5 separate regions of the Homo sapiens genome follow, and all the other regions are linked to region 5. The links are contacts of gene promoters, found by promoter capture Hi-C in human tissues and cell types (Jung and others, 2019). All regions are on one chromosome and are shown on one strand. Each heading gives the region's core, a stretch centred on a gene start or on the middle of the fragment in contact. The rest is flanking DNA. Distances are from core to core; before and after follow the strand shown. Region 1 has its middle 90 kb from the start of C13orf42. Region 2 has its middle 31 kb from the start of C13orf42. Region 3 overlaps LOC107984554 (a long non-coding RNA gene). Region 4 overlaps LOC124903174 (a long non-coding RNA gene). Region 5 holds the start of KCNRG (potassium channel regulator).

Region 1 (2,700 bases), core at 100-2,599, 1.0 Mb after region 5:
ACTGAGTAATGAGGCCAGTCTCAGGACATATCCTTAAATTCTTAGAGAATTTAATGTGTGTGTAGTTGACAACCATTTTTATATAATTCATGTTTCACTCCTGTATTATTTTTATTATTATTATTATTAATGTAGAGAGAACAAAGCTGAGAATATGCAGGTGGAGTAATTACCCCAAGATCATGCCACTTACAAGTGACAGAGCCAGAATTCAAAACCACTTCTGTCTGGCTTCAAAGCCTGTGGCCCTGACCACTAAGACATACCACGCTCTGCTCAGAGGACGCTGTGGAGGAGAGGGTGCCTTACCTGCAGCCACCTTTTTGCCCTCCCTCAGCTGGTTGGCCACGTGTTTGGGCAGCATGGCATAAAGTAAGGTCTCTGTTTTCTTCTTTTCAATGGCCAAGTGCTTGGAGAGGACCTGTAGCTCCTCCTTCTTCCTTTCCAGCTGGTTGGACAGCTCTATCTCAGCCAGCCGCTGCTGGTTCAGGAGGATGAGATCCCTGGTGGTGTCGTTGGGGGCGATGTCAGAAAGATGCATATTGAGTTCTTCCAGCTCTTGCAGGCTGCGGAGCTTCGGAGAGCACAGGTACACCATGCACCACATGGACTCCATCCAGATCATCTGGCCTTGCCATCATGGAGAGAAATGCAACAGTAGAGTATGTCACCAGTAGGGACTGAGACGAGCTCGCTGGACAACCAATCATCTCCCACACTGTGTGCTTCTAGTTACTGCACAGTCACGCTCTTTCTCTTTTACCCAAGGTCTGTGAGACCTTACTTATCTCCCCTCTGTCCCTAGCAGCTGTGTCCATTGCCTACATTGAAGTGGCTCCCATCTATCAATGGCCTCCATGCTACCGATGCCAACACAAGTTCCTTGGCCTTTTCTTTACTCAGCCTTTCTGCTGTTTGATGATGTTAACCAGACCCTTCTTCCCGAAATCTCACTTCCTAGGACTTCTCTGACACTGCTTTCTCTCTGAGATGTCCCCTAATTCTTTGAATTTTTACTTACATTATTTTAATCTCATTCCTTAAATGTTAGTGTTCCTGAGGGTTTTGTCTTGGTATTCTCATTTAGCATCACACAACTGCATCCTACACCACGCTGACTGCATCTGAATTTCCAGAGAAACCTTGCTTCCTGAACTCAATATGTGTATTTCTTTAAAAATAGATATGTTTGTTATGTTATTGTAAAAGCAGTACACATTCATTGCAGAAAACAAAAAAAGTGAAAGAAAATAGTAAAAATCACCCATAATCATACCACATGGATAATTACTGTTAATATTTTGTAGTATATCTTTGTTTTACAAAAAAACAGGGATTACATGGCATCTTCTTTTCATAATCTGAATTTTTCACTTAAAATATATAACATATTCTTTCATAGTATTAAATATAGATATTCATCTTAATTTTTGCTGGTTACCTTGCTCATACTGTCTTTTATTAAATAATAAGCTAGTATTGATTATATTTTATCTAGCTTATCATTGTATAAACAACATTGTGATGAATAAGCTTGAGGCAGTCTTTGTGTATAATCATGGCTAGTTAGTTTGTTAAAAAGATATATTCTTAGACACGGGTTACTTAGACAAAGAATATCCTCATTTTTAAGGCTTTTGATACGTATTGCCAAAATACACTCTAGGATGATTCTGACAATTAATACCTCCAGGAACAGTGTTTTTTTTTCTTCTGTTCTCCCTATTAGGTATCTGTTCATGGATATCTGCACTGAACTCAACTTCGATCCCCTCCACAAATCTTCTCTTTCTATTAGTTCTTTCATTACATATGTAGTTAGTCCCTGCGATGAGCTAGGCACACTGTTTTAAGCATTGAGGATACAGCAGTGACTCAAACTGGCAAAAATCCCTGCCTCAAGGACATTACATTATGTCTTTTTTTCAGTTAATTGCACCTTCATCACCCAGTTACCCAATCAAGGAAGCTAATAATTATCCTAACGATTCTCTTCCACCCCCCACATCCAGTCACCAAGTCCTGCCTTAATTATCTTGTGAGTCTATCCTCCAATTGCCACTCCAGTGCCACTGCCAGAGTTTAGCACTTTAGAGTTTCTTTCCTGGACTCCAGAAGCAGCCTCTGTCTGGCCTCCCAGGATCCATTTTCTCTACACTGTGACCCATCCTTCACACACCTCCAGAGTGATCATTCTAAACATCAAATCTGATCATGGCAGACACTTCAGCATGTTTCCAGCTGCATGATAGAGTTCAAGTCCTCATCTTGCCAGCCTCCTCTCCCATCACTCCACTCTACACCTCACTCGGGTTCCCAGAACATGTCATTCTCCCCTTGGACATCCCCCGAGTTCTGCCTGTGCTTATCCCTGGAATAACTAAACATCCCTCTAATAGAAAGATAGCTCAGAATGTGTGCCCTTTCAAGGCATATGCAAAAATTTGCTCAAAAGGAATCAAAGACCTAAATGTAAGAGCTAAAACATAAACTCTTAAAAGAAAACATAGAAGAAAAGTTTCACAACATCAGATTTGGCAACAATTTCTTGGATATGGCACCAAAATCACTGGCAACAAAAAAGAAAATAGATAAATTGGATTTCATCAAAATTAAAATCTTTTGTGCATGAAAGGACACAACCAACAGTGAAAAGGTAACATACAGAATATATTTGCAGATTATATATCTGATAAGAGG
Region 2 (2,700 bases), core at 133-2,632, 1.1 Mb after region 5:
GTAGGGTTTCTGCCGAGAGATCCGCTGTTAGTCTGATGGGCTTCCCTTTGAGGGTAACCCGACCTTTCTCTCTGGCTGCCCTTAACATTTTTTCCTTCATTTCAACTTTGGTGAATCTGACAATTATGTGTCTTGGAGTTGCTCTTCTCGAGGAGTATCTTTGTGGTGTTCTCTGTATTTCCTGAATCTGAACGTTGGCCTGCCTTGCTAGATTGGGGAAGTTCTCCTGGACAATATCCTGCAGAGTGTTTTCCAACTTGGTTCCATTCTCCCTGTCACTTTCAGGTACACCAATCAGACGTAGATTTGGTCTTTTCACATAGTCCCATATTTCTTGGAGGCTTTGCTCATTTCTTTTTATTCTTTTTTCTCTAAACTTCTCTTCTCACTTCATTTCATTCACTTCATCTTCCATCGCTGATACCCTTTCTTCCAGTTGATCGCATCGGCTCCTGAGGCTTCTGCATTCTTCACATAGTTCTCGAGCCTTGGTTTTCAGCTCCATCAGCTCCTTTAAGCACTTCTCTGTATTGGTTATTCTAGTTATACATTCTTCTAAAATTTTTTCAAAGTTTTCAACTTCTTTGCCTTTGGTTTGAATGTCCTCCTGTAGCTCAGAGTAATTTGATCGTCTGAAGCCTTCTTCTCTCAGCTCGTCAAAGTCGTTCTCCATCCAGCTTTGTTCCGTTGCTGGTGAGGAACTGCGTTCCTTTGGAGGAGGAGAGGCGCTCTGCTTTTTAGAGTTTCCAGTTTTTCTGTTCTGTTTTTTCCCCATCTTTGTGGTTTTATCTACTTTTGGTCTTTGATGATGGTGATATACAGATGGTTTTTTGGTGTGGATGTCCTTTCTGTTTGTTAGTTTTCCTTTAACAGACAGGACCCTCAGCTGCAGGTCTGTTGGAGTACCCTGCCCTGTGAGGTGTCAGTGTGCCCCTGCTGGGGGGGTGCCTCCCAGTTAGGCTGCTCGGGGGTCAGGGGTCAGGGACCCACTCGAGGAGGCAGTCTGCCCGTTCTCAGATCTCCAGCTGAGTACTGGGAGAACCACTGCTCTCTTCAAAGCTGTCAGACAGGGACATTTAAGTCTGCAGAGGTTACTGCTGCCTTTTTGTTTGTCTGTGCCCTGCCCCCAGAGGTGGAGCCTACAGAGGCAGGCAGGCCTCCTTGAGCTGTGGTGGGCTCCACCCAGTTGGAGCTTCCCGGCTGCTTTGTTTACCTAAGCAAGCCTGGGCAATGGCGGGCGCCCCTCCCCCAGCCTCGCTGCCGCCTTGCAGTTTGATCTCAGACTGCTGTGCTAGCAATCAGCGAGACTCCGTGGGCGTAGCACCCTCCGAGCCAGGTGCAGGATATAATCTGGTGGTGCACCGTTTTTTAAGCCCGTCGGAAAAGCACAGTATTCGGGTGGGAGTGACCCGATTTTCCAGGTGCCGTCCGTCACCCCTTTCTTTGACTCGGAAAGGGAACTCCCTGACCCCTTGTGCTTCCCGAGTGAGGCAATGCCTCGCCCTGCTTCGGCTCGCACACGGTGCACACACCCACTGACCTGCGCCCACTGTCTGGCACTCCCTAGTGAGATGAACCCGGTACCTCAGATGGAAATGCAGAAATCACCCGTCTTCTGCGTCGCTCACGCTGGGAGCTGTAGACCGGAGCTGTTCCTATTCGGCCATCTTGGCTCCTCCCAATATTGGGCTTTTATAATGAAGCTTAAAAGGGAATTGGGCTGGGTCTGTTAGGACTAGAACATCTTGTGATGCTGTATGGTTGGCTAGATAATGGCTTCCCAAAGATGTTTCCATCCTAATCCCCAGAACCTGTGAATGTCATTTTATATGGCAAAAGATATTTTGCAGATTTGATTAAATTAAGGATTTGGAGATGGAGAGATTGCTCAGGTGAGAGTGATGTAATCACAAAGATCCTTATAAATGGGCCGGGCACGTAGGCTCACACCTGTAATCCCAGCACTTTGGGAGGCCAAGGTGGGCAGATCACCTGAGGTCAGGAGTTCGAGACCAGCCTGACCAACATGGGGAAACCCCGTCTCTACTAAAAATACAAAATTAGCCAGGCATGGTGGCACATGCCTGTAATCCCAGCTACTCAGGAGGCTGAGGCAAGAGAATCACTTGAACCCAGGAGGCAGAGGCTGCGGTGAGCCAAGATCGTGCCCATTGCACTCCAGCCTGGGCAACAAGAGCAAAACTCTGTCTCAAAAAAAAAAAAAAAAATCCTTATAAATGGGAAGCAGGAGCACAGACTGAGCAGGTGGAGACATGATGATGGAATCAATAGGTTGGAGTGATGCAAGGATGGGGTCACCAGCCAAGGAATGCAGGAAGCCCCTGAAAGCTGAAAAAAGCAAGGAAATGGATTCTCCTCTAAAGCTTCCAGAAGGAACACAGCCCTGCCAACATCTTGACCTAACCTGGTGAAACTGATTTTGGTTCTTCTGACTTCCAGACTGTAAAAGCATAAATATATATTGTTTTAAGCCTTTAAGTCTGTGGTAATTTATTACAGCAGCAACAGGAAACTCATTCTCTCTGCAAAGGCGAACAGTGGTGAGAGGAACACAGTGTCCTGTTAGAGACACTTTGGGCTCTGTGTCTGAGAATGGGCACCAGGAAGGTCGGTCTTGGCAGCAATGCTCTCAGTTGCATGGCACATGGCTGGGTACACACGATTCAAATCAAACTAGCA
Region 3 (2,700 bases), core at 2-2,501, 1.2 Mb after region 5:
ACAAAAGTGATGAAAAGGAAAATGATTCCTGTACCCTACTGAATTATTACAAAAATAGATGCAAAAATCAAATCAACAATGTCAAGGAAAATGAAAGGTCAGCGACTTTTCTCTCTCGCCTTCATTCAGGACCACATTCAACTTACCCCTGGAAGAATACATTTTATTTCCAAAGGGCCTCTTAGCAGAGATTGGGCATTCTGCCTGAGTAACCAACTCCTTTCTTCTGACTGTAAGACTAGAAAATGCATGGCTTTATATTCTAGAAATTGATGTATGTATAGAAATAAAATTGAGTGGTCAGTGGGCACAGAATTGGGAAATGTCCCTGTCTCTTATTTAATCTGTTTTCTAGTTATCAAACATAATTTGCAATAAATAAGAAACAATTACCAAAAATGCTATACTCAGATATCCTCAGAAAATCTTGCGTTGTTTCCTCAGTTTTTAAAACCTTGTCACTAGTATAGTCTTGTCCATCTAAATTTGCAGAAGTGATCTTAATACATTTCAAACAACGACTGCCACTTCAAGAACAGGTCTTCAGCAATCATCCTTGGGTTTTAACCTCTAGATTTAACCTCCTCCCTGAACTCCAAGCTTATATACCCAGCTACCTACTCATCTTCTTAACTGGCATAGCTATTAGGTTGGTGCAAAAGTAACTGCGGTTTTTGCCATTACTTTTAAATCAAACTACAGTAGGCCTCTTAACATGCCCCAAAGTAAATTCCTGAACCTTCCCATAGCCTGCTTCCCTGTCTGCTCCCCTCACTCTTAGTTGCACAGGTCAAAGATCTTACAGTCTCCTGACTCCTTTCTTTCACATGCTCCTTCCAGTCCATCAGAAAGTCTCCGGTTTGCCTTCAAAATATATCTAAGAGCTCTCCTTAATTCCAGTAACAATGGGCTAAATTATTAAAGCCAAACAAAACTTAGCAATTAAAAACTCTGGACAAAATATTTTAAAACATGTAAGAGCTGGCAAAATGATAAGGAAATATAAAAATGAAGAAAAATTATAGTCCAAGGGGGAGAAAATATCTGTCTTTGCTCTGAGGACATGTGTCCATCCCAAAACAGTCTTCTTGGGGACCTAAACATTATGGGGATACAACAATAAAACAATTTCTAGTTTTGAGAACTTAAAAGACTGGGACCTTAAAGGGTCTAAAAGGTGAGGCTAGTTCAGGAATAGATGATGTCACATAAAATTACACCTAAACCTGATTCCTGGATCATCCAGTGTAGTGGTCCCCAACCTTCTTGGCACTAGCAACTGGCTTCGTGGAAGACAACTTTTCCACAGACTGGAGTAGGGGGATGGTTTCAGGATGATTCAAGTGCATTACATTTATTTTGTACTTTATTTCTATTATTATTACATTGTAATATATAATGGAATAATTATACAACTCACCATAATGTAGAACCAATGGGAGCCCTGAGCTTGTTTTCCTGCAACTAGACAGTCCCGTCTGGGGGTGATGGGAGACAGTGACAGATCATCAGGCATTCGATTCTCATAAGGAGCATGTAACCTAGATCCCTCACATGTGCTGTTCACAACGAGGTTTGCACTCCTATGAGAATCTAATGCTGCCCTGATCTGACAGGAGGCAGAGCTCAGGTGGTAATGCGAGTGATGGGGAGTGGCTGTAAATACCGATGAAGCTCCCTTGCCCGCCGCTCATCTTCTGCTGTGCGGCCCAGTTCCTAATAGGCCACAGGCCTATCTAGGTAGGTTTGTGGCCTGGGGGTTGGGGACCCCTGATCTAGTGAATCTCAAGCCTTGAATTTGTTTTAAGGTCATCCCAAACTGGTAGCATCTCCATGCCTGGCAGAAACAATTAGAAATCCTATCTGAATGAAGTTTTCCTTAATCTTAGGCTTCAAATAACCCCTATGCGTTTTTTTTTTCCAAATACAACATCTAATATCCAGTCAAAGATAACTAGGCAGGTAGGAAGCTAGACTCCATGAGAAAGAACCAGCAGAAGCAACAGGTAACAGAAGTAGATTCACAAGGCTTACATAGGAATTATCAGTCTATAAAATAATCATGCTCACTATGTTTGAATCCATAAAAGATAAAACTTGTGGAACTCTGCAGAAACAGAAAAAGATAAAAAATGACAAAGCAGATTTTAAAATGGAATTTCATAGAAATAAAAACACAATAAAATTTAAAATTACATGGATGGGTTAAACAGCAGATTCTATGTGATTGAAGAGAATTAGTAAACTGAAGGATAAATCAGAAGAAATTATACAGAATGCAACATGGAGAAAAAAATGATTAAGTAGTATACAGGGAGTCAGTAGGGGTGGGTGGGAGCAGGTGTCACTTCTTTGCCTCATGTCCCCTGTCACTACCTGCATGCCACCAGCACCATGAAGATCTGGACTTCAGAGCATATCTTTGACAACCCATGGGACACTGTTACAACAGCTGCAGTGCAGAAACATCCAAACCCTAGGAACCCAAGAATGGTTGGATTTGACGTACTGAACAGAAATACAGGTCCCTCTGGAAAGTTGTAGAGCCATAGACTTTTCTACAGAGAGTGGGAACTGCCTTCCATTACGAATTCTCAAATATGGTTTATTCCAAGAACAAAAGGTTGATTCGACATTAGACGATGGAATGCACCACATAAATAGCATAAGGGAGAAAAACTATATGATTATCTCAAGAGA
Region 4 (2,700 bases), core at 18-2,517, 1.5 Mb before region 5:
GTGCTAGTTCCTAGCTAGAGTCTGGGGCCTGAGACACAAGTCGCTAGAGAAACCTTGGAAACCAATATATCGTCTCATTTTGCAAGACCTGGTATAATGTTTCTAAAGCTCAATAGTATAGTCTAAACTGATGGTCTCATATACATGACAGTGGAATAAGAAACAACATGAACATTTTAATTTTTTCTGTACTTTGAGATAATTACCCTTGTGATGGGTTTGAGGTAAACTCAGCTTCAGGGTTTCCAAAATTAAAATTAAGAGAGAGGTCTATAGAAAATTTCTGGCCCTATCCCCTGGAGTTATGCAGCCTGGGGTATGGCCCGTGGGACTGAAACCCTGTCCCAACATCACCACCAAAATGGCTGTTGATTCTGTTCCCAGGGGACTTCTCAAGTAATTTATAGAAGGAGAAATGAAGCTTAAGACAGGCAAATTTGGAGGCGATTATCAGTCAATGGTTTACAACAGGGCTGCCAAGTAGGCAGGACCCACACTATTGAGAAACCGGGAAGATGCAATGCAATGCTCCAGGCTCTGTGGCTATGCCCCATGCTCTCTTCTATTTACTTTTCACCTCAGTTCACTTCTATTTCTGATCTCTTTCCACAAGATTGACAGGGCTTTCTTTTGGACTTCTCTTTGATTAGGATTTAGCTTTTCCTTGGCTCACTCGGGGTTTCAACATCCTGGAATGCTTTCCCAGCACATCTGTGTATCTCAACATTTTCCATAGCACTCTGTCTTTCCTGATCACCTATGACCCAGCACTGCCACTTCATTCATGGGAATGTCCAGGCCCTCATTTAACCAGTCTTCCTAGTTCCCTGTTCCCTTTCCTACCCCATAGGACCACTTGAACCAGCTCATGGATCAGATACGTCTTCCACATCTTCCAAAAAGCTCAGAGGATTTTCTACCCCAAAGAGATAATCCTCAGGGAACCTGCTGGTCCCCTCCCTTTTTCTTTCAGTGTTTGAGACTTGAAGAGGATTATTCTGATGCTTTCTAGGCTCATCAGAGGATACAGGCCTATGGATCACTATGAAAGCATCCACTGTGAAACGGAAAATTGTGTTTTGAAGATAATGCTAGAAAGCTGACACCGCTAAGTCATACAATTCTCGTCTGTTCACAGAATATGATCAAAACTATTTTTTAGAACAAAGTTGATGTTTTTAGCATTGTCCCTGAAACTCCTGTCTCAGTGTAACTCCTTTACCCTGAACTGATTTGGCTTTAGAATATAAATTAGTGGTAAGACATGTATATGGCAAATGATTTGAAATGCAGAACCATGGCAACAAGAGCTTCTGTTAGAGAGAAAAGGAACTAACACTTATTGAGTGCTGTGTACTAGGTACCATGTGCCATTAATCATAGTGATAATGACAATATTGGAGCATGCATATTATGTTTAGGCATTGCTCTAAGTCCTTACATATGACCTATTTTAAGCCTCACAATAACTCCATGAGATGAGCACTGTGTCACTGTCCTCATTTTAGAAAAGAGAGGCTTAAAGAGGCTGAGTAACTTGTTTAAGATGAACTGAGTACCAAGCCCAGGTCTGTCTGAATCCAGCATCTTCTTACAGCATATTTTAAAAATGGATGAAACTTCCTACGGATTTAAAACTTTAAAGTTTTAGAAAATGAAGAGCTGAGTCACATGGCATAACTTGGACCTGATATAGTTAAATAATGATGAGATAAATGAGTTTTGACTGAGATTATCCATATTATCTCAATTTACTACATTTAGGCTATGAACACAGATTTCAATGGAACTCAAGTGACCATTTCATGAGAATGTATACATTGCGTCCTTTCATTTCATCTGTGTTTGTTGCTACAATATCAGAAGGCTTACATGGTTAATTCTATCTTAATATATAACTAGTCTTAATCATATACAGAAAATTTCTATTTAAATCTAGTAGGTAAAATATGTATACAACCTCTTATTTAAAAAATTAAGGCCAGCCTGGGCATGGTGCTCATGCTTATAATCACAGCACTTTGGGAGGCCGAGGCAAGTAGATTTCTTGAGGCCAGGAGTTCGTGACCACCCTGGCCAAAACAGAGAAAACCCGTCTCTATTAAAATACAAAAATTAGCCGGGCATAGTAGTGTGCACCTGTAATCTCAGCTACTCTGTAGGCTGAGGCAGGAGAATCACTTGAACCTGGAAGGTGGAGGTTGCAGTGAGCCGAGATTATGCCACTGCACTGCAGCCTGGGTGACAGAGCAAGACTCTGTCTCAAAAAAAAAAAAAAAAAATTAAGGCTAAGCACAGTGGCTCATGCCTGTAATCCCAGCACTTTAGGAGGATCCACTGAGGCCAGGAGCTCGAGACCATCTAGGCAACATAGTGAGACCCCCATCTCTAGCACCTTGGAGTGTTCTTATAATTTCTGGAATGGGCCTGGTCATAACTGGGTGTGGTGGCGCACATCTGTAGTCCTAGCTACTGGGGAGGTAGAGGTCGGGGGATCACTTGAGCCCAAGAGTTCAAGGCTGCAGTGAGCTATGATCCTCCCACTGCACTCCAGCCTGGGTGACAAAGTAAACCCTATCTCAAATAAATAAATAAATATCTGCTTTTGACATTTTGGAAAAAGAATAAACGAAAACCTACCCATATTTGCTTTTGTGTTTCAGACCTTTTTTAGCCAGGCATTTAAGACTGGCTGAGTGT
Region 5 (2,700 bases), core at 190-2,689:
AATGTGAATGGTACATACAAAACCTGGCATTTTCTTGTGATAAGTTTACATTTTTAGGAGAGTGGAGCTTTCAATCTGCCCTTTTCTCCTTTGTTTTTGTAGTTTTCACCAAAGATGATCAACTAGAAATGTTAAGTGGCTATGCAAGCAAAAGCATAGATAGGTTAAAAAAAAGGATCAGCTGGCTGGGCAGGGTGGCTCATGTCTATAATCTCAGCATTCTAGGACAGTGATGTGGGAGGATTATTTGAGGCTAGGAGTTCCAGTTCGAAACCAGCTTCGTAAACATAGCAAGACCCAGTCTCTACCAAAAAAAAAAAAAAAAAAAAAAAAAAAAAAAATATATATATATATATACACACACACACACACATATGTACACATACATATATATACATATATATGTATATATAGAACACATGGCAAGAGCAGGAAATGGGAAGACTACCTTTTTTCTGGCAGCTATGTGTTGTTTTGTTCGAAAGATGGCAAGTGTACAACCAAACCAATCCACTTGCTTACAGAAAGAATGTTTAGTGTAGTTAAGACTAATTTGACAACAGATAAAACAGTCTGTCAGCTATTACAAAGTAATCAGCTGAACACTAATGCTGTTCTGTCTGCTCACAAGAGATAAAGATACCCTCTCATGGAATAAACACCTTGCTTAGAATTCATATAACAAAGAAGTAACCTTATAACTGCTCTCTAGTCTGCCTTATTTGTGTCATAGAGTAAGATATTCCTTGAAAGCCCATTAAGTGGAATAGACTTTCTGAAAATAAGAGTTCTTTACCTCAGTCCTCCTCTAATTTGGTTGAGAGGAGGTAATGAAAATGGGGACAGGATAAAAGGTGGCAACTAAATTTAAAGCACAGAAGAAATGATTTCCTTCTAGCTATGAGAATAGTCAAATTGAGCTTGCCAGGCTGTCTCATTCCTAACATGTAATTCATGATTTAGCCACTAAATTTCTAAGGAGATCATAAGAAATTAAGAAAAACGTTTAAGTCTAGCCTCTGCGTGGTAGACAGGTATGGGGAGGGAGAATGCTTTTCCCCTCCCAGTAATAAAAAAAAAAAAAAAAAAAATATATATATATATATATATATATATATATATATATATATATATATATATATATATAGTTTTACTAGGTTTTCATGGATAAGTTTTTAAATGTAAGACAGGAAAGGGATCTATTTGATGTCTATCTTCAGATATATTGGCAGTTTTCCTTAAGCTATTTAGTTCCTCATCTGTTGCTTTTTCATTTTGTATACTGCAAGTTCCCAGGCAACTCGAATTTGCAAACACAGCCATGGATACACTATTTACCTTACAGTAGTTTCCTGGGAATCTAAGTCTGGTTTTTGTTATTCTTCCCTCCCCTCCACTGCATAATCATGTATAACTAGCAACATTTATGGTTATAGGTTGATTTCCTAAGTGTGGCTGATGGTAGCCTCTAGTTTGAAGTGAGGGAAGAATGAGTAGTCAGGAACTGGTCACTTTGAATGTGGGAGGGAAGATATTCACGACAAGGTTTTCTACGATAAAGCAGTTTCCTGCTTCTCGTTTGGCACGCATGTTAGATGGCAGAGACCAAGAATTCAAGATGGTTGGTGGCCAGATTTTTGTAGACAGAGATGGTGATTTGTTTAGTTTCATCTTAGATTTTTTGAGAACTCACCAGCTTTTATTACCCACTGAATTTTCAGACTATCTTAGGCTTCAGAGAGAGGCTCTTTTCTATGAACTTCGTTCTCTAGTTGATCTCTTAAACCCATACCTGCTACAGCCAAGACCTGCTCTTGTGGAGGTACATTTCCTAAGCCGGAACACTCAAGCTTTTTTCAGGGTGTTTGGCTCTTGCAGCAAAACAATTGAGATGCTAACAGGGAGGATTACAGTGTTTACAGAACAACCTTCAGCGCCGACCTGGAATGGTAACTTTTTCCCTCCTCAGATGACCTTACTTCCACTGCCTCCACAAAGACCTTCTTACCATGACCTGGTTTTCCAGTGTGGTTCTGACAGCACTACTGATAACCAAACTGGAGTCAGGTATTTTGTACTTTGCAGTATTTCTCTTGTATACCAGTTTGTGATGTTTTCTCTAAAAACTTGAAGTTCCTCAGGCCTGTAACTTCTGGAAAAGATGATTATTCAAAATAATGTTTTGGGGTAACCAGTGGAGTTGGGTAGAATGACCAAATAATTATTTTCCAAACTGGGATACTTTTTAGAGTGAAAGGGGCTATTATTAGGTGGGACAAAAGGAATAAATGAAGACTGCCCAGAAAAAACTGAGACTATGGACATTCAAATCATGGGAGAAAATAATTTTGTAGATTATGTTCCATTGCTAATGAATTTGACTTAGAAAAGAATTGCCTTATTTTTAAGAGATTGTTTCAGTGGTTCACATAAAGGCTCGCTCACTGGTTTCTCTTGAGTTCCTTACACACTATATAAGTTGTTCTTTCAGTTTTATGATTCAACTACTGTTTTTCCTTCAGCTGACTTTATTTTTAAACACCCTTAAAGACAGATATATCTCATGGCAAATTTGGTATCCTGTTACAGCCTTGGCTCTTAAACAACTCAAAATATTGGGATAGGCTGTCAGTATGTTAAGGATAGTTGCTCCTGAGTCAATTCTTCACTTACTCCCTCTGTTGTTCTTGGCTGGATCCT

Evidence for each region. The method cuts DNA at HindIII sites, captures the fragments that hold promoters and counts their contacts. A contact is called where the count stands out against the background at its distance.
Region 1: a contact is called between a fragment that was not itself captured here and the fragment with the promoter of KCNRG in region 5, in 1 of the 25 tissues and cell types used here (dorsolateral prefrontal cortex).
Region 2: a fragment that was not itself captured here is called in contact with the fragment with the promoter of KCNRG in region 5 in 1 of the 25 tissues and cell types used here (dorsolateral prefrontal cortex).
Region 3: a contact is called between a fragment that was not itself captured here and the fragment with the promoter of KCNRG in region 5, in 1 of the 25 tissues and cell types used here (dorsolateral prefrontal cortex).
Region 4: a contact is called between a fragment that was not itself captured here and the fragment with the promoter of KCNRG in region 5, in 1 of the 25 tissues and cell types used here (dorsolateral prefrontal cortex).

What each region holds. Positions count from the first base shown.
Region 1 is chr13:51,020,089-51,022,788 of GRCh38, forward strand. It overlaps the pseudogene GUCY1B2. Among named protein-coding and RNA genes, the nearest start is that of C13orf42, 90 kb to the right of the region's middle. The HindIII fragment of the contact is 5,319 bases long and covers 1-2,700 here.
Region 2 is chr13:51,079,167-51,081,866 of GRCh38, forward strand. No RefSeq gene overlaps it. Among named protein-coding and RNA genes, the nearest start is that of C13orf42, 31 kb to the right of the region's middle. The HindIII fragment of the contact is 3,142 bases long and covers 1-2,700 here.
Region 3 is chr13:51,193,487-51,196,186 of GRCh38, forward strand. The region is part of intron 1 of LOC107984554 (a long non-coding RNA gene); the gene reads right to left. It also overlaps the pseudogene PRELID3BP2. Among named protein-coding and RNA genes, the nearest start is that of FAM124A, 28 kb to the right of the region's middle. The HindIII fragment of the contact is 3,934 bases long and covers 1-2,700 here.
Region 4 is chr13:48,545,257-48,547,956 of GRCh38, forward strand. The region is part of intron 1 of LOC124903174 (a long non-coding RNA gene); the gene reads left to right. Among named protein-coding and RNA genes, the nearest start is that of RCBTB2, 14 kb to the left of the region's middle. The HindIII fragment of the contact is 5,674 bases long and covers 1-2,700 here.
Region 5 is chr13:50,014,005-50,016,704 of GRCh38, forward strand. KCNRG (potassium channel regulator) reads left to right here and starts at 1,440. Exons shown (of 2, transcript NM_173605.2): 1 at 1,440-2,067. The coding sequence starts at 1,490. It overlaps TRIM13 (tripartite motif containing 13), which reads left to right. Exons shown (of 2, transcript NM_213590.3): 2 at 1-2,700. All of the region lies in intron 10 of DLEU2 (deleted in lymphocytic leukemia 2), which reads right to left. The HindIII fragment of the contact is 16,932 bases long and covers 1-2,700 here.